Linked DNA regions of Homo sapiens: regions 1, 3 and 4 are each linked to region 2. The links are contacts of gene promoters, found by promoter capture Hi-C in blood cells and fetal thymus (Javierre and others, 2016). All regions are on one chromosome and are shown on one strand. The core of a region is centred on a gene start or on the middle of the fragment in contact, and the rest is flanking DNA. Distances in the headings are between cores, read along the strand shown. Region 1 overlaps LOC105371114 (a long non-coding RNA gene). Region 2 holds the start of ITPRIPL2 (ITPRIP like 2). Region 3 overlaps GDE1 (glycerophosphodiester phosphodiesterase 1). Region 4 overlaps CCP110 (centriolar coiled-coil protein 110).

The links. The method cuts DNA at HindIII sites, captures the fragments that hold promoters and counts their contacts. A CHiCAGO score of 5 or more calls a contact.
Region 1: a contact is called between a fragment that was not itself captured here and the fragment with the promoter of ITPRIPL2 in region 2, in 5 of 17 cell types (M1 macrophages, endothelial precursors, monocytes and 2 more). The highest score is 7.9, in M1 macrophages.
Region 3: a fragment that was not itself captured here is called in contact with the fragment with the promoter of ITPRIPL2 in region 2 in 3 of 17 cell types (monocytes, M1 macrophages and M0 macrophages); the score reaches 7.5 in monocytes.
Region 4: a fragment that was not itself captured here is called in contact with the fragment with the promoter of ITPRIPL2 in region 2 in 1 of 17 cell types (M0 macrophages); the score reaches 5.5 in M0 macrophages.

The regions. Positions count from the first base shown.
Region 1 is chr16:19,369,389-19,374,443 of GRCh38, forward strand. All of the region lies in intron 1 of LOC105371114 (a long non-coding RNA gene), which reads right to left. Among named protein-coding and RNA genes, the nearest start is that of LINC02858, 38 kb to the left of the region's middle. The HindIII fragment of the contact is 2,847 bases long and covers 316-3,162 here.
Region 2 is chr16:19,110,856-19,116,747 of GRCh38, forward strand. It overlaps ITPRIPL2 (ITPRIP like 2), which reads left to right and starts at 3,109. Exons shown (of 1, transcript NM_001034841.4): 1 at 3,109-5,892. The coding sequence starts at 3,607. The coding sequence ends at 5,214. RefSeq lists silencers at 3,111-3,210, 3,301-3,670. The HindIII fragment of the contact is 2,659 bases long and covers 2,684-5,342 here.
Region 3 is chr16:19,512,086-19,517,739 of GRCh38, forward strand. It overlaps GDE1 (glycerophosphodiester phosphodiesterase 1), which reads right to left. Exons shown (of 6, transcript NM_016641.4): 2 at 4,929-5,104. Among named protein-coding and RNA genes, the nearest start is that of GDE1, 7.2 kb to the right of the region's middle. The HindIII fragment of the contact is 4,135 bases long and covers 467-4,601 here.
Region 4 is chr16:19,542,758-19,548,129 of GRCh38, forward strand. CCP110 (centriolar coiled-coil protein 110) reads left to right here. Exons shown (of 14, transcript NM_001323572.2): 7 at 1-3; 8 at 121-237; 9 at 2,040-2,141; 10 at 2,337-2,453; 11 at 3,060-3,133; 12 at 3,655-3,717; 13 at 5,198-5,257. Among named protein-coding and RNA genes, the nearest start is that of VPS35L, 10 kb to the right of the region's middle. The HindIII fragment of the contact is 297 bases long and covers 2,670-2,966 here.

The DNA.
Region 1 (5,055 bases), core at 489-2,988, 260 kb after region 2:
CCTGAGTCCATACTGATACAAATAAATGATTGATCTATTTTTATCTTATTTTTACTTTTATTTTTGACACAGGGTCTTGCTTTATCACCCAGGCTGGAGTGCAGTGGTGCAATCACAGCTCACTGCAGCCTGAAACTCCTGGACTCAAGCAGTCCTCTCGCCTCAGCCTCCCGATGTGCTGGGATTAGAGGCATGAGCCACCAAGCTCGGTTTAAATAAATGATTTCATAAACAAATAAGGAAAACTAGCTCATGGTTCTGCAGGCTGTACAGGAAGCATGGCACTGGCATCTGCTCCTGGTGAGAGCCTCGGGAAGCTTCCAATCATGGCAGAAGGCGAATCACCCATGTGGAAGAATATTCCAAATAATTCATGCAGACACTTTGTCCTCAAGAGTTGGGGGAACATAATGCCTCATTCCTTAAGTGTAGGCAGCACACGGTGTCTTCCTTCCAAAGAGTGCATGCAGTATGGAAAGGGGTGGAGGCAGAGTGAGCGTACAGTGGAGAAACCTGGTAAGCCCAGCCTCAGCCAGGTGATGAAGGTCCACATTAACAGTGACCCGTCACGTTGATGGTAGGCACCCTCGACATGCGATGAGAGAGGCACTTTACCTCTGAGGTCTTCCTCCCAAAACCCCATAACCTCTGCCTAATGATAATAAAGACATAAGACAAAACCAAATTCAGGAACATTCTACAAAATAACCGTCCAGCACTCCTCAAAACTGTCAAAAAGGCCAAGAACAAGGGAAGTCTGAGCGACTGTCACCATGAAGAGGAGCCTAAGGAGATATTAGGACTAAGTACAATGTCATGTTTCTGGATGGGATCCAGGATCAGAAAAAGGACATTACAGAAAACTGAGGACTTAATGCCATTTCTGGTTTTGAGACAAAGTATAACCCATGAATAAAACAGAGAGAAACTAGTGTTGTGTGATTCAGTTGGGGTGCTGCCATCTGCAAGTATTAATAAGAGAAACTCCAGCCAAAAATGGCCTAAGTGTAAGAATCCAGAGCCAGCTGCAGTGGTGCGCACCTGAAATCCCAGCTACTCAGGAGACTGAGTCAGGAGGATTGGATCATTTGAGCCCAGGAGTTTGAGACCAGCCAGGGGAATGTAGTGAGACCCTGTCTCAAAAAAGAAAAGGAAAGGTTGTGGGCTCAGTGGCTCACGCCTGTAATAATCCTAGCACTTTGGGAGGTCTGAACTCCCAGCCAACATGGTAAAACCTCGTCTCTATGAAAAATACAAAAAAATTAGCCAGGTGTGGTGGTGCATACCTGTAATCCCAGCTACTTGGAAAGCTGAGGCAGGAGAATCACTTGAATCCAGGAGGCGGAGGTTGCAGTGAGCCAAGATTACATCACCACACTCCAGCCTCGGCAACAGAGTGAGACTCCATCTCAAGAAAAAAAAAAAAGAAGAAGAAGAGAAGAAAAAGAAAAGGAAAGGAAAGGTCTGGCTCAGTGGCTCATGCCTGTAATCCCAGCACTTTGGGAAGCTGAGGCGGGTGGATTGCTTGAACTCTGGAGCTCGAGACCAGCCTGGGCAACATGGCAAGACCCCATCTCTACAAAAAAATACAAAAATTAGCCAGGTGTGCTGGCACATGCCTGTGGTCCCAGCTACTTGAGAGTCTGAGGTGGGAGGATTGCTTCAGCCCAGGAGTTCAAGGCTGCAGTGAGCTGAGATCACACCACTGCACTCCAGCCTGGGTGACAGAGTGAGACCTTGTCTAAAATTTAGAAAAAAAAAAAAAAAAAAAAAAAAAAAAGAATTCAGGCAGCAGAGAGAATCCAGGGCCAATTGGTTGAGTGGCTTAACCAAGTCAAGCCCTTCCATCTTCATACTTGGCCATTTTTGGGGTCTCCTCCTCTGATTGACCTGATATGGGCACTTCCAAACACTGTGGTCAGGCAGGGATGGAGAGCAGGAGCTGTTTCTTCTTTGTGTGTCTCTTTTTTAAGACTAAAAAAACATTTCCAGAAGCTGCCCAGTAGACTCTGCCTCATTGACCAGAACCTAACACCCCTTGCTAAGCCCAGGCACCACCATAACAGGCTGAGACCAATCAGAATTTGCCCTGCAGTCACACAGGGAGGGCTGGACACAGGGTAAAAATCAGGATTCAGGCTGCAATAAGGGCAGCTGGCTGCTTCAGCACAGTCTTGTGAATACAAGAGAAAATGAAAAGAACAACTCCTTTCATGTGTAATTAGAAAACTAAGGTGAAGCCGGGTGCAGTGGCTCACATCTGTAATCCCAACGCTTTGGGAGGCCAAGGCAGGAGGATCCCTACAGCTCAGGAGTTCAAGACCAGCCTGGGCAACATAGTGAGACCCCATCACTATTTCTAAAACAAGTAAAAATAATTCTAAAAAGGAAAACCAAGTTGAAACTATGTTCCTGTCACCAAAACACACCACTTTCCCCAAAGCCAGATTTTCTCACTAGGTTGGGTTATATGAGGTCCTACCCAAATGCAAAGAGAGAAAAAAATTACCATTTCAAGACCCTTCTAGTCTGAAGACACTAAGTTTCTATCTAGGACGTCAAATTGCTTTGTGCCCTTCAACATATAACCACTTTCTCTTTGAGTTACAATGTATTTGACTGTAAATAAATATGGAAATATGTTTAATTCTGCAATTTTTTATTTTTTTAGAGACAGAATCTTGCTCTGTTGCCCAGGCTGGAGTGCAGTGGCATGATCTCGGCTTACCGAAGCCTCAACCTCCTGGGCTCAAGCAATCCTGCTACCTCAGCCTCACGGCTAGCTAGGACTATAGGCATGCATTACTATGCCCAGCTAACTTTTGTTGTAGTTGTTGTAGAGACAGCTATGTTGCTCAAGCTGGCCTCAAACTTCTGGCTTCAAGTGATCCTCTGGCCTTAGCCTCCCAAAGTGCTGGGAATCGCAGTCATGAGCCATCATCCCTAGCTATCTCCAATTTCTTGAAATTACTGCTTACTGAGTTTTTTTAATATACAAGTGCAACCTTCTAATAACATTTTGTCATCGATATTATTATATTTATTAAAGAGACAGCATAGCTAATTGATTAAGGATGAGACTGTATGAATATAAATCCCAAGTTTACAACAAATCTATTAATAGTAGCAGTGTGACATTAAAGAGATTTATTAACCACTCTAAGCTTCAGTTTCCTTGGTGTATTAGTCTGTTTTCATGGTGCAAATAAAGACATACCTGAGACTGGGTAATTTATACAGGAAAAAGGGTTTAATGAACTTACAGTTCCACGCAGCTGGGGAGGCCTCACCATCATGGTGTGACGCAAGGAGGAACAAGTCACGTCTTACATGGATGGCAGCAGGCAAAAAGAGAGAGCTTGTGCAGGGAAACTGCCGTTTAAAACCATTAGATCTTGTGAGACTTATTCACTATGGTGAGAACAGCATGGGAAAGACTCGCCCCCCGTGATTCAATTACCTCCCACCAGGTTCTTCCCACGACATGTGGGAATTGTGAGAGTTACAATTCAAAATGAGATTTGGGTGGGGACACAGCCAAACCATATTACTTGGTTACAAAATAATAACATTTACTTCTAGGAGAATTATATAAGATGAGGCCTGTGACGTGCTTAAAATGTGTCTGGCACATAATAAATACTCAATAAATGTGAGTCCTTATACACATATGAAAGTCAATATTCGCATCTTTTGCCAGATTGAATCCTCTCTCCTGTCATCATGTGGAGCTGAATGAAAATGATCAGGTGAGGGTGGGAGGAGGTGTGGTAGAACTACACATCCCAAAGATGGACACGTTCTAATTCTCCCAAATTTCTAAGAATATGTTACCTTACATGGCAAAAGAGACTTTGCCCATTTGATTAAGTTATGGATCTCAGGCCAGGTGCAATGCTCACACCTGTAATACCAGCATTTTGGGAGGCCGAGGTGGGCAGATCACTTGAGGCCAGGAGTTCAAGACCAGCCTGGCCAACATGGTGAAACCCTATCTCTACTAAAAATACAAAAACTAGCTGGGTGTCGTGGTGGGTGCCTGTAATCCCAGCTTCTCAGGAGCTGAGGCACAAGAATTGCTTGAACCAGGGAAGCAGAGGTTGCAGAGAGCTGAGATCGTGCCACTGCACTCCAGCCTGGGCAACAGAGCGAGACCCTGTCTCAAAAAAAATTATGGATCTCAAAGTGGGAGATTATCCTAGATTACCCAATTGGACCAAATCTAATAACACAAGTCCTTATCAATAGAAAGGAGAGGCAGAAAAGTGGGTCAGAGAAATGCTATAAGCAAAAGACGCCTCCAGTCACTGCTGGCTCAGAATATGGAGGAGGGGAACACAGTATGTGGAAGTTTCTAGAAGATGACAACAGCCCTTGGCTGATGGCCGGACGGAAAACCAGGGCTCCATCCCTATAGCTGCAAAGGGCAGAATTCTGCCCACAACTCAAATAAGCAGGAAAGGGAATCTCCCTTGTAACATCCAGAAAGAAATGCAACCCTTTGCACACCTTGATTCTAGTCCAGTGAGACAAATTTTGCACTTCTGACCTATAGATATATAAGATAATACATTTGTGAGGTTTTTTTATTCTGGTAAAAAAAAATACCATCTTAACTCTTTTTAAGTGTACAGAACAGTTGTGTTAACTATAGGCACATTGTTCTGCAATGAGCCTCTAGAAGTTTTTCATCTTGCAAAAACGAGACTATATCCACAACAATGCCCTGTTTTCCTCTCCTTCACGCCTCCTGATAATCATTGTTTTACTTTCTGTTTATAAGAGTTTGACAGCCAGGCATGGTGGCTCATGTTTGTAATCCCAATGCTTTGGGAGGCCAAGAGAAGAGCATCACTTGAGCCCAGGAATTTGATACCAGCCTGGGCAACATAGTGAGCTCCCATCTCTACAAAAATTAAAAAATTAGCTGGGTGCAGTGCTGTGTGCCTGTAGTCCCAACTACTCTGGAGGCTGAGGCAGAAGGATCACTTGAGCCCACTGAGCCCAGGAGTGAGCTATGACGACACCACTGCACTCCAGCCTGGCAACAGCGTG
Region 2 (5,892 bases), core at 1,859-4,358:
AAGGCTGCAGTGAGCTGTGATTGTGCTACTGTGCTCCAGGCTAGGCAACAGAGCAAGACCTATTTCTTTAAAAAAAAAAAAAATAGTGTTTGCTAACTCTGACCTAGAGCATTGCCATTATTTGTATAGTTGGAGATAGCATACCACTATATCTGCCAGGGGAAAAATAAACCACTCTGTTGGTAGCACTCCATTTTATAGATCGGGAGATAGAAGCAAAGATAGGTTAAGAGAGTTATCCAAAAGAGGTGGCCAGCTGTCATCTCTGCATGTCAAAACATCTCATCCATCTTTTTCCAGCCGCAGCAACATGACTTTCCTTGGGGGAGAGACACCCCTTCCCACAGTTCCCACAGTTTGAACAGGGCTGACTCCACCTCTTGGTTCCAGGGCTGGGTACCCAACTGTATTAGTCAGCTCAGGCTGCCTCTACAAATACCATAGATTGGGTGGCTCCAACAACAGAAATTTATTTTCTCATAGCTCTGGAGGTTAGAAAGTCCAAAATCAAGGTCTGGTAGCATTCCGCTTCTGGTGAGGGCTTTTCTCCAGGCTTGCAGATGGTCTTTCTTTGGTCCAACCACATGGAGAGAGAGCCGTCTCTCTTTCTTCCTCTTATAAGGTCACCAATCCTATCAGATTAGGACCCTATCTTTCTGACCTCATTTAACCTAAATTACTGCCGAAAAGCCCTATCTCCAAATACAGTCACATTGGCCGTTAAGGTTTCAACATAGATTTGGATTGGAGTTGGTGGGGGCACTACCTGGGCAATGCTAATCAGTGCATTCCCTTGCTTGGTGACTTTAGCATATGACCCAAAACTATCCCAAGTCATGGCATTTACCACAACTTTGAGAAAAGCAAGCCTCTCTGGCCAGGCGCGGTGGCTCACGCCTGTAATCCCAGCACTTTGGGAGGCTGAGGTGGGCAGATCACCTGAGGTCAGGAGTTCAAGACCAGCCTGGACAACATGGTGAAACCCCATCTCTACTAAAAATACAAAAATTAGCCAGGCGTGGTGGCGCATGCCTGTAATCCCAGCTACTCAGGAGGCTGAGGCATGAGAATCACTTGAACCCAGGAGGTGGAGGTTGCAGTGAGCTGAGATCGTGCCACTGCACTCCAGCCTGGGCAACAGAGTGAGACTCTGTCTTTAAAACAAACAAACAACAAACAAACAAACAAACAAAAACAGGAAAGGCTCTCTTTTCTTCTGCACTGAAGACAATGTGAGACTACAGCAGCCAAGGGCATATGGAGGACCTGTGGGGAGGACAGCCCACTTAAAAAGCAGAGAGCTAAGAAGTGAAGGGAGAACAGGTCTGCATAGCATTGAGGCACCTAGATTCAGCTGTACCTGAAATCCCCTCATGGATCTCAGTTAACATGATACAATAATGTGTGTGTGTGTGTGTGTCTATGCGTGCGTGCACTTAAGCCAGTTGGAGCTGTGTTTCTGTCACTTGCAAACCTAAGAATCTTGACTGGTAGATGATGATCTCATAGCTAATATTAGTAGATGGGATCTGAAGGCAGATCTGCTTAGCTCTCAGGGGCCCAATTTAGGATTTACTGGGAACAACCCAGAAGCCATCTTTTGAGTCCTGGTTCCCAGGTGGCAGCTGGGTTCTAACATGTTTTAATATATTCACCCTTGCTCTCTTTAAAGGTCAGTGCCAGCAAAGAAGGTGTAATGAGTGTGAATAAAGAAAGACAATTATTTAAATAGATCAGATTATTTCAGGAAGTGCTCCCTGTTATGAAACAAAACAAGCTTCCTAGGACTGAGGTTCCAATGTAGACCCAGACAAAGGACCCCCAAAATTCCCAGCAGATGAGGAAGAGACCTTCCCTGGGCCCCCTCCTGGGAGTTCCACCCCTTGGTTTCTGCCCAGCTCTACAAAGGCTGTGTAACCTTGTGGGGGAGGGGGGAAGGGGGGCAGCTGAACCTGCCTGAGCTGAACCTGTTTGTGCCCCTTTCCTCCACTGGGAAAATAATTTTATTTTAATTTCATTTCATTTTATTTATTTTATTTTTTCAGAGACAAGAGTCTTGCTCTGTCACTCAGGCTGGAGTGCAATGATGCTATCATAGCTCACTGCAGCCTCGAATTCCTGGCCTCACTCAAGCGATCTTCTCGCCGCCTCGGCTTCCCAAAGTGCTGGGATTACAGGGGTGAACCAGCATGTTCCGATGAAGTCTCAGGCCAAATGTCACCCCTGTCATCCTCTGGTTTCCACAGGGTAGCCAGCACCTTCTCACTCCCTCGGGCACTTTTGTTTATTTTAGAGCGTTTTCTTGCTGTGGAATCCTTCCCCCCACTTTTTTTTTTTTTTTTTTTTTTTTTGAGACGGAGTCTCACTCTGTCACCCAGGCTGGAGTACAGTGGCGCGATCTCGGCTCACGGCAGCCTCCGCCTCCCGGATTCAAGCGATTCTCCTGCCTGAACCTCCCGAACAGCTGGGATTACAGGCGCGTGCCACTACGCCTGGCTAATTTTTGTATTTTTAGTAGAGATGGGGGGCGGGGGGGGGGGTCTCACCATGTTGGCCAGGCTAGTCTCGAACTACTGACCTTAAATGATCCGCCCACTTCGGCCTCTCAAAGTGCTGGGATTACAGGCGTGAGACACTGCGCCCAGCCCCTTCCTTTTTTGATTCCCATTTTTACAAGGCTGTAAGCTTCACGAAGGACAGAAACCTTGTCCATCTTGTCAACTATGATTTCCCCAGCACTGTGGCTCCGACCTGGCACATGGTAGGTGCTCGGTGAATACTGGTTTGAACAGACGACTGCGGCAGACGGCAAGGGCCACTCCTGTGCCAGGGCCTGCCACGCCACCGCAGCTTGTGCGGTGGGGGTGGGGAGGACTGGACAGTCTGGCTGTGCGCCCTTTTCTCCTTTTCAACGTCCCAGTATAACTTCAAGGGAGCGCAACTCCAGAGGCTCCCTGGACGAAGCTACCGCCCCGGAATCAGGGCCTTCCCAATTCTGCCTTCGGGGAGGGAGGATGGGGGTGGGCCGCGGGAGGCCAGTTCCAAGAGCGTCCTGAAGTCCCTCCCGCCGCCCCGCGTCGCTTTAAGGCGGAGGCCCGGGAGGGGGCCGACCCGGCTCGCCAGCTCCACGCTCGGCTCCAGACTCCGGCATTTCCTCCCCGCTAGCTGGCGCGGCCTCGCCTCCCCCTCGGAAGAGGAAACTCCCGGGGTCCGAGTAACAGGGTCAGGCGCGGAGAGGAGCGGCGGGAGAGCCAGGAGGGCCGCCCAGGGTAGGAGGCGAGCCAGGCCGGGCCAGAAGCTGGCCGACGGCGGCGCGCGGGGGCGCCGGGCGGGGAGGGCCGCTGGGCCGGACTCAGCGCGCAGCCGGGGCAGGGCGCGGCCCGGGGCCCGAGAGCGCAGGGCGGGCCGCAGCTGGAAGGAACACTTGAGCTGGGAGAGGAGGCCGAGCTGGAGGGCGGCCTCCCTCGGGCCTGCGTTCGGGAAGCCGCCGCGGAGGAGGAGACGGGGACAGCGGGGCTGCCCGGGCGCTGTGCGCATGCTGGGCTTGGGTCGCCGCCGGGGCTTGCCCCCTGGGCTGCTCGGCCACCGCCGCCCCGGGCGCCCGGCATGTCGGTGCACTACACCCTCAATCTACGCGTCTTCTGGCCCCTGGTGACCGGCCTGTGCACCGCCCTGGTGTGCCTCTACCATGTCCTGCGGGGAAGCGGGGGCGCCCGGGCCGAGCCCGCCGACGGCGTGGATGGCGGCTTCCCGTTGCTTAAGGTGGCCGTCCTGCTCCTCCTCAGCTATGTCCTCCTGCGCTGTCGCCACGCTGTCCGGCAGCGCTTCCTGCCCGGGTCTCCCCGTCTGGAGGGTCACGCCGCCTTCTCCTCGAGACACTTCCGAGAGCCGGGCCTCAGCATCCTGCTGGAGAGTTACTACGAGCATGAGGTGCGCCTGTCTCCGCACGTGTTGGGCCACAGCAAGGCGCACGTGAGCCGGATCGTGGGCGAGCTGGTGCGGGCTGGCCGCGCCCGGGGGTCCCCCGGTCTCATTCCTGGGGGAGCGCTGGCCTTGGCCTTCCGCGGAGACTTCATCCAGGTGGGCAGCGCCTACGAGCAACATAAAATCCGCCGGCCCGACAGCTTCGACGTGCTGGTGCCACTGCGCCTCCCGCCGCTTGTGGCGCTGGAGCCACGGAGCCTGGGCGAGGAGCCAGCGCTGGCCCCGGCCTTCCGCGGCTGCTTCTTGTGCGCCCTCAAGGCACCACCCTCACCATCGGGGGCCTCGGGGGGCCACTGGCTTCGGGACTGCAAACCCTTTGCTGATGCCTTCTGCGTGGATGTGCGCGGGCGGCGTCACCTCTCTGCTACTCTGGTGCTGCGCTGGTTCCAGTCGCATCTGCAGCGCTCCTTGGCCACTGTGCGTTACAGCCTGGAGGGGCGCTGTCGGGTCACCTTGACCCCAGGTGGCCTGGAACAGCCCCCCACCTTACACATCTTGCCCTGCCGCACTGACTACGGCTGCTGCCGCCTTTCTATGGCTGTGCGTCTCATCCCCGCTGTCCATCTGGGAGATGGGGTCTTCCTTGTGGCGCCACCACCGCCACCCTTGCCCAGCGCGCCCCTGTTGGAGCTCCCTGAGGGCCTGCGTGCGGAGGCACTGTGGGGTGTGAACACAGCACGCCAGGAGCAGAAGCTGCTGAGTTGGCTGCAGGAACGGGCAGCTCCAGGTGCCTGCTACCTCAAGTGCCTGCAGTTGCTTAAGGCTCTGCGCGATCTGGGGGCCCGTGGGCTGGACTCAGCGGCCGCCACCCAGTGGGGACGCATCCTATCCTCATATGTGCTCAAGACAGTGCTGCTGGCAGTGCTGCTGCGCAAGGGGGCCCCTGGGCAAGGCTGGGACGAGGAGCACCTGGGAAGGTGTTTGGAGGAGTTGGTGCAGTTCCTTAGGGACTGCCTGCTGCGACGCCATACGCTCTTCCACTGCGTCCTGGGCCCTGGTGGGGCGGCTGCCGAGGTGGGTCCCCTGCCCAAGGCACTGAGGGAAGCCGCCCCAGTTGACCTCCTGGCCGCTTTCGACGGGCACGCCCGGGAACTTGCAGCAGCGCGGTTGCTGTCCACGTGGCAAAGGCTGCCCCAGCTTCTCCGGGCCTACGGGGGTCCCCGCTACCTTGCCAGGTGCCCCCCACCCCGGAGTCAGCGCACCCAGGGCTTCCTTGAAGGTGAACCGTAAACCCTGACAGCACCCCCACCTGACCAAATGCTCCTAAAGCCTTTCCCACTGGGTGGGGGTGGGAATGGCGGTGAAGCCAGTTAAATGCAAGATTGCAGAAGGCATTGGAAAATTTGGTGGCTGCCACAAGCTTTAGTGGCTTAAATATCACCTTCTCGCTTCACAGTCCAGTATAATATGACATCTTCACACCCACTAGAGTGTCCTGGGCAAACCATGGGAAGACATCCAACAGGAGACCCAAGAATTGGTTCAAATATTGTTCTGTGTAGACGGATTCTGTAGAAGGATGTGGCTTTTAGAGAAGTCCAGTAGAAGAAGCAAGAACTAGCTGCAGGGAAAGTTCCTTCTGTCGGTTTTTAGACACAGATCTCTCTGCCCAAATTAAAAAAAAACAAAACAAAACACTAAAGTTTTTGACACAATTACTTGCTAGGTACTGGGTTCCTGATTGTCTTTAAAAAGAAAAATCTGAATCTTTATTTGCAACTGGAATTGAAGTTCTATTTTAGGGGCTAATGTTTAGAGGAACATAATTTCCACTGTTCAAATTAATATTAATGTATTTTTAAAATGGTGCAATCACAGGTGTTTGACAAGATTGTCAACAAGTTAAGTCACATAGATGGAAAGGCAATCGAGAGTTGGTTAGAGAAGCTTCCAGAGAAAATAGCACTT
Region 3 (5,654 bases), core at 1,284-3,783, 400 kb after region 2:
TAGTGGGATTACTGGATTGTATGGTAGTTCTATATTTTTAGTTTTTTGAGAAACCTCCATACTGTTTTCCATAATGGCTGTACTAATTTACATTCCCACCAACAGAATATAAGAGTTCCTTTTGCTCTGTATCCTCGCCAGCATCTGTTATTTTAAAAATCTTTTAAATAATGGCCATTCTAACTAGATAAGATGGTACTTCATTGTGGTTTTGATTTGCATTTCCCTAATAATTTGTGGTGTTTTTTCATATGCCTGTTGGCCATTTGTGTGTCCTCTTTTGAAAAATGTTTATTCAAATTAGGATTTGAATAGATGTTTTTAATGGGATTATTATTGTTTTTGCTGTTAAGTTCCTTGTATATTCTGGATATTAGTTACTTGTCTGTTGAATAGTTTGCAAATATTTTCTCCTATTCAACAGGTTTTCTTTTTACTCTGTTGATTATTTCCTTTGCTGTGCAGAAGCTTTTTAGTTTAATATAGTCACATTTGCCTGTTTTTGTTGCCTGTGCTTTTGAGGTCTTAGCCATAAAATCTTTGCCTAGATCAATGTCCCAGAGCTTTTCCCCTGTGTTTTCTTCTAGTAGTTTTATAGTTTCTGGTCTTAAATTTAAACTTTTAATCCATTTTGTGTTGATTTTTTAAATATAGTGAGAGATAGGGGTCTAGTTTCATTATCCTGCATATGGATATCCAGTTTACCCAGTACCAGTTATTGAAGAGAGTTCCTTTCCCCCACTGTAATGTTCTTGGTGCCTTCATGGAAAATCAGTTGGCTGTAAATATATGGATTTATTTCTTGGTTCTCTATTGTATTCCACTGGTCTATGTATCTGTTTTGTGTGTGTGTGTGTGTGTGTGTGTGTGTGTGTGTGTGTGTCAGTATTTATACCAATACCATGCTGTTTTGGTTACTGTGGCTTTGTAGTATATCTTGAAATGAGGTAGTGTGATATGTCCAGCTTTGTCCTTTTTGTTCAGTATTGCTTTAGCTATTTGGGCTTCTTTACGGTTCCATATGAATTTTAGGATTGTTGCTTTTCTATTTCTCTGAAGAATGTCTTTGATATTTTGATAGGGATTGCACTGAATTGTAAATTATTTTGAGTAGAATGGTCACTTTAGGAATATTAATTCTTCTGATCCATGAGCATGGGATGTCTTTCCATTTGTGTCCTCTTAAGTTTTCTCATCAGTGTTTTGTAGTTTTCCTTGTAAGAGCTCTTTCACCTCTTTGGTTATATTTATTCCTAGGTATTTTGTTATTTTTTTTTTGGTAGCTATGTAAATGGGATTACTTTCTTGATTTCTTTTACAGCTAGTTCATTATTTACGTATAGACATGCTACTGATTTTTGTACGTTGATTTTATATCCTGCAATTTTACTAAATTTGTTTATCAGTTTTAACAGTTTTTTGGTGAAGTCTTTAGGTTTTTCTACATACAAAATCATGTTGTCAGCAAAGAGGTACAATCTGACTTCCTCTTTTTCCAATTTGGATGCCTTTTATTTCTTTCTCTTTCCTGATTGCTCTGGCTAGTCAATCATTCCATATTTAGCAAAATTGATATGAAGGTCGAAAGAATCATGGAGGAAGTAATTAACCATATTATCCAGAGTTTGCTGTACTTGGAACTGATAAAACTGAAAGTATCCAGTAAGTACAGACTAAATGTAATCATAAACTTCCCTTTTATTGCATAAGACTTTCAAACATGCTGTGGTTGCTTTTAAACACAAGTAGGTTGGGCTGTAATTGTGTAAGAAGCAACAAGTAAATGGTTTGCACAAGCACTTTTAGAAAGGTTAAGACAACTGGACCACATGGTGGTGCCCAAGACATTTTTAATTCATATCCTGGTGACAAGTGAGCATTGAAAACCCAAGACTCGTAGATGAGAAGAATTGAAGCACACAGACACCTGAGCACAGAGATTAGAGATTGATGGTCTTTGGTTTCTTATATTGTATAATGGATGTTATTTTTCTGTTTTTTGTTTTGTTTTGTTTTGATTTGTTTTCCTTTTCTGGTAATTCTGTGCTTCTGACACTAGCTATAAATTGGGGTTCCCACCTCCTCCTCCTTGGGTTCAATTAATTTGTTAGAGTGGCTTGCGGAACTCAAACACGTTTACAGGTTTATTATAAAGTATGTTACACAGCATACAGATGAAGACATGCATAGGGTGAGGTATGGGGAAAGGGGCATAGAGCTTCCATGCCCTTTCTGAGTGCTCCATCATTCAGGAACCTCCATGTGTTCAAATACAGATATTCTTGACCAAAGACCAGCAACAACAACAAAAATCATTTAATTTTTAAGAAATCACTGAATTTCTATTGAATTAATAACATTATTAATAACCCTACTTCCCAAAGGGCAGAGTATATGCCACCTTTGGAAAACTCAAAGACTTAATTTTCAGATTGTAATTTCCCTAATAGAATGCTATGCAGGAGGAATTCTTAGGAATACATAAATCTGTTAACTGTATTGTGTATTTATTTAAGTGCAACTGTTTAAAATAAATAATGTTCTAAGACATAATTTTCTGATAAAGAAAATGAAAACTAAGTGCTTGATACAAAAGAAATTAGCTTTTCTCTCATAATAAAATTATTATTTAACTTAATGCTAATTCAACTGCATTATTTCAACTGTAAGATCATGCTTTTAAAAAAGGGTAAGGATAGGCCAGGTACAGTGGGCTCATGCCTGTAAATTCAGCACTTTGGGAAGCTGAGGCAGGCAGATCACCTGAGGTCAGGAGTTCGAGACCAGCCTGGCCAACATGGCGAAACCCCGTTTCTACTAAAAATGCAAAAATTAGCTGGGTGTGGTGGCATGTGCCTGTAATCCCAGCATTCTGGAGGCTGAGGCAGGAGAATCACTTGAACCCGGGAGGTGGAGGTTGCAGTGAGCCAAGATCATGCCATTGCACTCCAAACTGGGCAACAAGAGTGAAACTCCAACTCAAAAAAAAAAAAAAAAAAGATAAGGATAATTTAAACATTACAGGCAATTATCCCAGCCATTCTAATCAATTTCTATTCCCTGAGAGTGAAAGATGGGAGACCTGAATTTGTTATTCCTTTGGCTGATCTTAGTTTCCTCCTTATCCTCCTCTCAGGACAAGCATCTCATCACACTGAGCATAATTCTAGAGAAAATATCTATTTTTTCCCACAACATAATCCGTAAACACAAGCCAATTACTTCATTTAGTTTTCAATCATAGAACACACTCTGTTCCAATAGTGGAGCAAAGACTGGTTGTGTTAAAGACACTGAGATAATATGTTGCCTTTGCTGTCTTCTTAAGGGATTTTTTGAAAATCACAATTTTTTTTCCTAGGATGCACAAATTCCAGAGAAATGGACTCAGTGCTCCCTTAAAGGATTTTTAAGGGTAATGATGACCCTAAACATTTTTGCTTTAAGTATTAACTTTGAACCTGACATTTTATTAGCTGCAATGTCATTATAATATTCAAACCAGCCTTTCCCTTGCATAAGCAGAGCAATACAGTATCTGATGACACTCAAGAACAATTCTAGCAACTTGGACTCATAATTCTCAAGTGTTACCAATATTCTTTCCTGCCTACAGTATGACTTCCTTCGGCAGACTAATGTTTTTCAGATCCTAGGAAAACAGGTCTGGATCATCTTTTAGGAAAAAGTATAACTTAACTGTTGGGTCAAATACTTAATTTTCCAAGAGAATCGATCATTGTCTGGATAATTGATATTACATGAATAACCAGTGAGCACACCCTTTTCAGTACTGCAAAGATGACAAGCAGAGAGGGATTTAAATAACCACATTCCAAAGTACAGTATATTACTCAGCATACCAATTCCAAGGGTGTTTACCGCTGTAAGTGGGGAAGAGGATGTAGGTTCTGTGATCATGTAAGTTTGAGAAAAGCTAAGTTACAAGTAAGAATCAGCTGATGTGGACTGTTTATCCACAACAGAAGTATTCAGAATACACTGTTTGATCTTACTTGAACCCTGTTTTTGCAGAACATCTTGTAAGATTAGCTCTAGTGTATATACTTTGGAAGCTACGTTTACACTCTACCAGGAAGGAATTAAATTAGACACTGAAAGAACTTTTGCTCTTACAGGGTTGAAAGACATTGGGGGCAGCTAAAAACAGCATGATTTGGACTAAAACTTGGGATAGATTCTAGTTTTGGCTTCTTTATGAACTAGTTATTTGCCCTTGAGTAAATAATTTAACTTTTCTGGGATTATATCTAAAGGCAAGATTGATCTAGATCTGTAGTATCCTATATGGTAGCCACACATGGCTATTTCAGTTTAAATTTACATTTAAATTAAAAATTCACTTCCTCGTGTCACTAGCCACATATCAAGTGCTCAATAGCCACAAGTACCTACCATATTACACAGTGCAGATATAAAATATTTCCATCATTGCAGAAAGTTCTACTGCAAAGTGCTATTCTAGATGATTTCTAGGATACTCTCTATTCCTACAATTCTGTGATTCCTCAGAAGTTTGTTATGAGGATCAGAAGAATTAAATGGGTTAAGTTAAAATGTGATATTATAATGTTACTTGAAGCTTTTAATGAATGTATAATTTGCTTCTTGGTACACCTGAAGGCAAGAAGATTGCCAAGCAATGACTTTCAGCCTCATGATTCTATGACTAGACAGTATTATCTTGACAATAATTCTGAAGCCAAATTTAGCCTCAGTGGGAAAGATTAAAAACATAATGCCAAATTTCTGTTGTTCCTGGCACTTGCTCATTACTTACAAGACCTACGTACAGTTCAAAACAAAACAAGACAACTCTCCTGGGGCAGATGTAATTAGAAGGCACCAGTGTCTGTCATTTCCAATAAAAGCTAAAAGATCTGTTTAAGTGACAATAAACTACTTACCTGAGTCTGTGGTTTGCTGCAGGATTCAGCTTCCTAATTTGTTCAAATGTCAAATCACACAATCGCCCAGTCCCATCAGTCGTCCTATCTACTGTGTTATCGTGCATTAAGACAGGAATCCCGTCAGAAGTAAACTCAATGTCCAACTCCACGCCTGTTGCTCCATTCTTAGCTGCCTTAACAAAAACATCAAGAATATTACTGTCAAATGGCCACAAACATTATTTTGCATCTAACCACCCAAAAGACCAGCAGGGCTCCTAAGACAGCTGTCCTTTTTGATTCATTTTCCTTCCACTTCCCCCACCAAACAGCAATCCTGATCTGTTTCTGTTTTCTGTGTATATAACCTTACTTCAATTCCTAACTGATGGATTCCTTAAAAACTTTAATTTTCCCACTCTTCTTACTTTCACAGTGGAAGACTAGGAGACTTCAGGAACTTATGTTTTCTCTGGATGTTTAACTATATGGGTCATCAATGGCTTATGAATACTTAGACAATTCCACTGTTTACCTACACTATTTGTTGGTACAGCAGTTCTGATGATCACCCTACGGTTGTTGATTAGTCAGATATTTCACTACTTTGGCATAAATGAGTCAGGTTTTTGTTGGTTTAATTCCACCCTCTACCACAAAGACACCACGCCTGCTTCTAGGACATATCACATTTTGTTTATGTAAGCAGCACTGGCTGTTGGCCCATAAGTTGTTAAGCTTGAT
Region 4 (5,372 bases), core at 1,568-4,067, 430 kb after region 2:
CAAGTGGGTAAACTTAATGATACATGTCCATCTATCTATTTATCTTTTCTTAAGAGCTATATTATCTTAGACTGTATAAATGAACACCAATAAACATTGTGTCTGTCTTCTTTCTCCTAGGTTTTTAGTCTGGAAATACAAGCAAAATTTAACAAAATAACTGCAGTGGCAAAAGGATTTCTTACTCGTAGACTTATGCAGACAGATAAGCTGAAGCAACTTCGACAAACTGTAAAAGTAAGATTCCTGTAAATCGTTTGTATTTCACTTCTGTCTTAGTTTCTATCAGTCTTGTGACAGCTGAGCTAACAGATTAGTTCAGAACTTAAACGCTTTTTAGTCACTGTAATCTAGGCAGTTTTAGAAGTCTGATTGTTTGTTGCGGGAAGTCAGGGACCCCGAATGGAGGGACCAGCTGGAGCCGCAGCAAAGGAATATAAATTGTGAAGATTTCATTTTAATATGGACATATATCAGTTCCCAAATAACACTTTTATAATTTCTTACTCCTGTCTTTACTTCAATTGCTGAACATAAATTGTGAAGATTTCATTTTAATATGGACATTTATCAGTTCCCAAAATTAATACTTTTATAATTTCTTATGCCTGTCTTTAATCTCTTAATCCTGTTATCTTCATAAGCTGAGGATGTAGGTCACCTCAGGACCACTATTGTGTTAACTCTACAAATTGATTGCAAAACATGTGTGTTTGAACAATAGGAAATCAGTGCAACTTGAAAAAGAACAGAATAACAGCGTTTTTCAGGGAACAAGGGAAGACAACCATAACTGACTGCCTGCGAGGTCGGGCAAAATAGAGCCATATTTTTCGTCTTGCAGAGAGCCTATAAACGGACGTGCAAGTAGGGAAGATATTGCTAAATTCTTTTCCTAGCAAGGAATATTAATAATTAATACCCTGGGGAAGGAATGCATCCCTGGGGGGAGGTATATAAACGGCCACTCTGGGAGTATCTGTCTTATGCGGTTGAGATAAGGACTAAAATATGCCCTGGTCTCCTGCAGTACCCTCAGGCTTACTAGGATTGGGAAATTCCACCCTGGTAAATTTGTGGTCGGACCAGTTCTCTGCTCTCAAACCCTGTTTCCTTTTAAGATGTTTATCAAGACAATACGTGCACAGCTGAACATAGACCCTTATCAGTAGTTCTGATTTTGCCCTTGTCCTGTTTCCTCAGAAGCATGTGATCTTTGTTCTCCTTTTTGCCCTTTGAAGCATGTGATCTTTGTGACCTACTCCCTGTTCTTGCACCCCCTCCCCTTTTGAAATCCTTAATGAAACTTGCTGGCTTTAAGGCTCAGGTGGGCATCATGGTCCTACCAATATGTGATGTCCCCCTCGGACGCCCAGCAGTAAAATTCCTCTCTTTGTACTCTTTCTCTTTATTTCTCATCTGGCTGACACTTATGAAAAATAGAAAGAACCTATGTTGAAATATTGGGGGCTGGTCCCCCCAATAATCGTTAATCTTTCTCAGATAATATTATGAATAACATGTAAATGAAGCAGTTTGTGTGTTTTTGACTTGCTTGAAAGTGAGTGGTTTGACTTCTGATAAGTAATAGTTTTATTTATGTTCTTAGTACAGTCGGTCCTCTATCTCTGGGTTCCACATCTGTGGATTCAACGAACCATGGATCAAAAATAATTCAGAAAAAACAAATGATGGTTGTGTCTGTACTGAACATGTACAAATTTTTTTTCCTTGTCATTATTTCCTAAACAATATAACAACTATTTACATAGCATGTACATTTATTAGGTATTTTAACTAATCTAGAGATGATTTAAAGTATATGGGAGATGTGCTTAGGTTATATGCAGATAACTATTTTATATAAGGGACTCCAGCATCCTTGGATTTTGGTATCTGAGGGATTCATGGAACCAGTCCCCCACAGATACTGACGAAAGACTGTAATTTTGGATTGACTGAGAAAAAGAAAAAAGCAAACTCCAGTGATCACAAATCTTTCTAGAAAAATGTTTTTGAAGGAGCATTTCTTTTTTCAGGATACTATGGAATTCATAAGAAGTTTTCAGTCAGAAGCACCATTAAAGAGAGGCATTGTTTCAGCTCAAGATGCTTCACTTCAGGAAAGAGTGTTAGCTCAGGTAAATACATGGATCCTGAAGGCTTTTAAGACATGGACATATTATATTTCTCCTTTTTTATTTAATCACTGAAAATAGGTTTCAATGAAAACTATTTTAATCTTTTTCTATAAATAAGTGTACATGGTATATAGTATTCCTGAACTCTAACCTCATCTTTTAAATGTATACAATATTTTCTTCTCTTGTGCCTAGTTGCGAGCTGCCTTGTACGGTATTCATGACATATTCTTTGTAATGGATGCAGCTGAAAGAATGTCTATTCTACATCATGATCGAGAAGTTCGCAAAGAGAAAATGCTCAGGCAAATGGTATGTTATATGATTTCTAATGAATAGAGTTCTTCTGGGTTTAGGGTAATTGATACTAAATGTCAGTTTTGGTTGACTTCAGCACCCTTCTTCTGATAATTCTTAAGCACAAGTAATTCCTGGAATTACTAGCAGCATTTAAATCTGTAGACAGATTTAAAAGAATTACATCATTTAAGAATTACATATTGTTTTCTTATTGGATTTTAGAGTTGAAGCTTTGAATGTTTTGCTCAGATGGCTTATACAATCTATCAGCTGCTCCTGATTGAATTTCCTTGAATTCAATTATAATGTGGGTTTTGCTTTTTTTGAAATCTGAGTTAGAAAACAGGCTCCAAGTTAATTTGAAGTATATCAGAGTATGTGATTTGAATCAGTTATCTTAGTGTGATTGGCAAAGGAAAAGCAAGCAAAATTTACATAATTCTAATTATTTAATTCTTAGAATTAGACTGCTTCAAAAATACAAAACAAGATGATTTAACTAAATTAAAAATGTTAGTAGAGAGAAGCTTTTCCAGGCAATGTGGGATTATAATACATTATAATATAGTGGTATTAATTGGTTCCAGTAGAGTTTGACGTTACTTTTGTATATTAAAGGATAAAATGAAAAGTCCACGAGTGGCTCTTTCAGCTGCAACACAGAAGTCTCTTGATAGGAAGAAATACATGAAGTAAGTTTTTTGTATCATGTCATGTTAGTTATCAAACCAATTAATTTTAGTCATCTGTTGGTCTATTTGCATATTTAAATTTAGAAATAAAGAGTTAATTTTTCTGCAGTTGAGCTGATAGAAATCCCCTTTATATAAAGAAATTTATTAAAATCAGGTGCTAAAATCTCATTTCATCTTAGATGAATTTATTTACTAAATTTGACAACATTCAACTCATATAACTGATAGCTGGTTAATCTTAAAAACAGTTAATCTTTATATTCAGTGCCTAAATATATTCCTTTTCTGATGTCCTAAAGGTTTCTTGGGAATAAAGACTTAATGGGAAAAATATCTTAATAACTTTTTTAAAAAATTCTTCTTTCTTGAATGCAGTCTTTAATATGCTTAGTACAGGTCTTCCAGTAGTACACCAGCTTCTAAATGATGATTTGTTTCTGTCATCCTGTATTACATTTGTAAGCATGTTTTCTTCCCTTCTCTAAATACATTATGTCCTTATTTTTATATTGTGTTAGAGCTGCTGAAATGGGAATGCCAAATAAGAAATTTCTGGTTAAACAAAATCCTTCTGAAACAAGGTGAGAAAAATCACTTAGTCTTAATGAGAGGCTTTTTGTTTTTTATAGAAAAAAAAAATTGGCTGGGCACGGTGGCTCACGCCTGTAATCCCAGAACTTTGGGAGGCCAAGACGGATGGATCACCTGAGGTCGGGAGTTTGAGACCAGCCTGACCAACATGGAAAACCCCATCTCTACTAAAAATACAAAATTAGCTGGGTGTGGTGGCACATGCCTGTAATCCCAGCTACTCAAGAGGCTGAGGCAGGAGAATCGCTTGAACCCGGGAGGCAGAGGTTGCAGTGAGCCAAGATTGCTCCATTGCACTCCAGCCTGGGCAACAAGAGTGAAACTCTATCTCAAAAAAAAAAAAAAAAAAAGTTAAAAAATTAAAATTTAAATCCCAAACTTCATTTTTGTTGACTTTGTTCTACTTGACATCAGTAGAGCACTTCTTGCTGAATTGGGTCGGGGGTCGTCCTCAGGCTCAAGATTCATACCAATACCTGGCCATATACCTAGTCACATGTCAGACCAGATGTGCCCGGACCTTTTGTAGGACATGCTATCTGTGGTAGAAATTTTGAGCGTGGTATGTCTTGAGTTCAGTTAGACAGTCCAGAGGATCTTTGATACTTATTTAAAAACCTTAGAAAGCTAATTTAAGCTGGGCTGGGAGCAGTGGCTCATGCTTGTTATCCTAGCAGTCTGGGAGGGTGAGGTGGGTGGATCACGAGGTCAGGAGTTCAAGACCAGCCTGGCCAAGATGGTGAAATCCTGTCTCTATTAAAAATACAAAAATAAAAGATACAAAAAGCCGGGTATGATGGCGCGTGCCTGCTCAGCTACTCAGGAGGCTGAGGCAGGAGAATTGTTTGAACCTGGGAGGCGGAGGTTGCAGTGAGCCGAGACTGCACCACTGTACTCCATCCTGGGCGACAGAGCAAGGGTCCGTCTCAAAAAAAAGCTAACTTAAGCTGGGCACAGTGGCATGCTCCTATGGTCCCAGGTACTCGGGAGGCTGAGGCAGGAGGATAGCTTAAGCCCAGAAATTCAAACCAGTATGGGTAACATAGTAAGACCCATCTCAAAAAAATAAATAAATAAAAAATAAAGCTAAAAAGCGAACTTTAATATTTCTGACCTGTTTTTTACTCCTGTAAAATGAGAGTGATACTTTCTTCTCTCACTGGTTTGAAGGGAAAAGTTAGCTTTTGTAAAGCATATGTATAAGAAAATTATCTAAAAGCACAAGGGTTAGTCTATATGTTGGACATTTCTTTGCTGATAAAAACCTAAGGTTTGGACTCTTAGTGAGCAAAATACAAGTATCATATTAATATGCTTTAGTCGATTTGCTCTGATTTGTGGTAATATATAGGCCATATTATTGCATAGTTGACCTTTACCTTACAGTCATCATCTTTCATCCGTTGAAAGAAAATGGGAAAAAATGGAATTTAACCTATTAAATTAATTTTTCATTTAATTTGTCAACAGAGTCCTTCAGCCAAACCAAGGACAGAATGCACCTGTTCATAGGCTACTTAGTAGACAAGGGTAAGAATGCCACACACGGGTATTGAAAACTACGGAAACCAAGATTAGATTTGAGAGGGAAAAATAAATCTAGTGTTCTTTATGTAAAGGATAATGGTTTTTCAATGGGATTTTT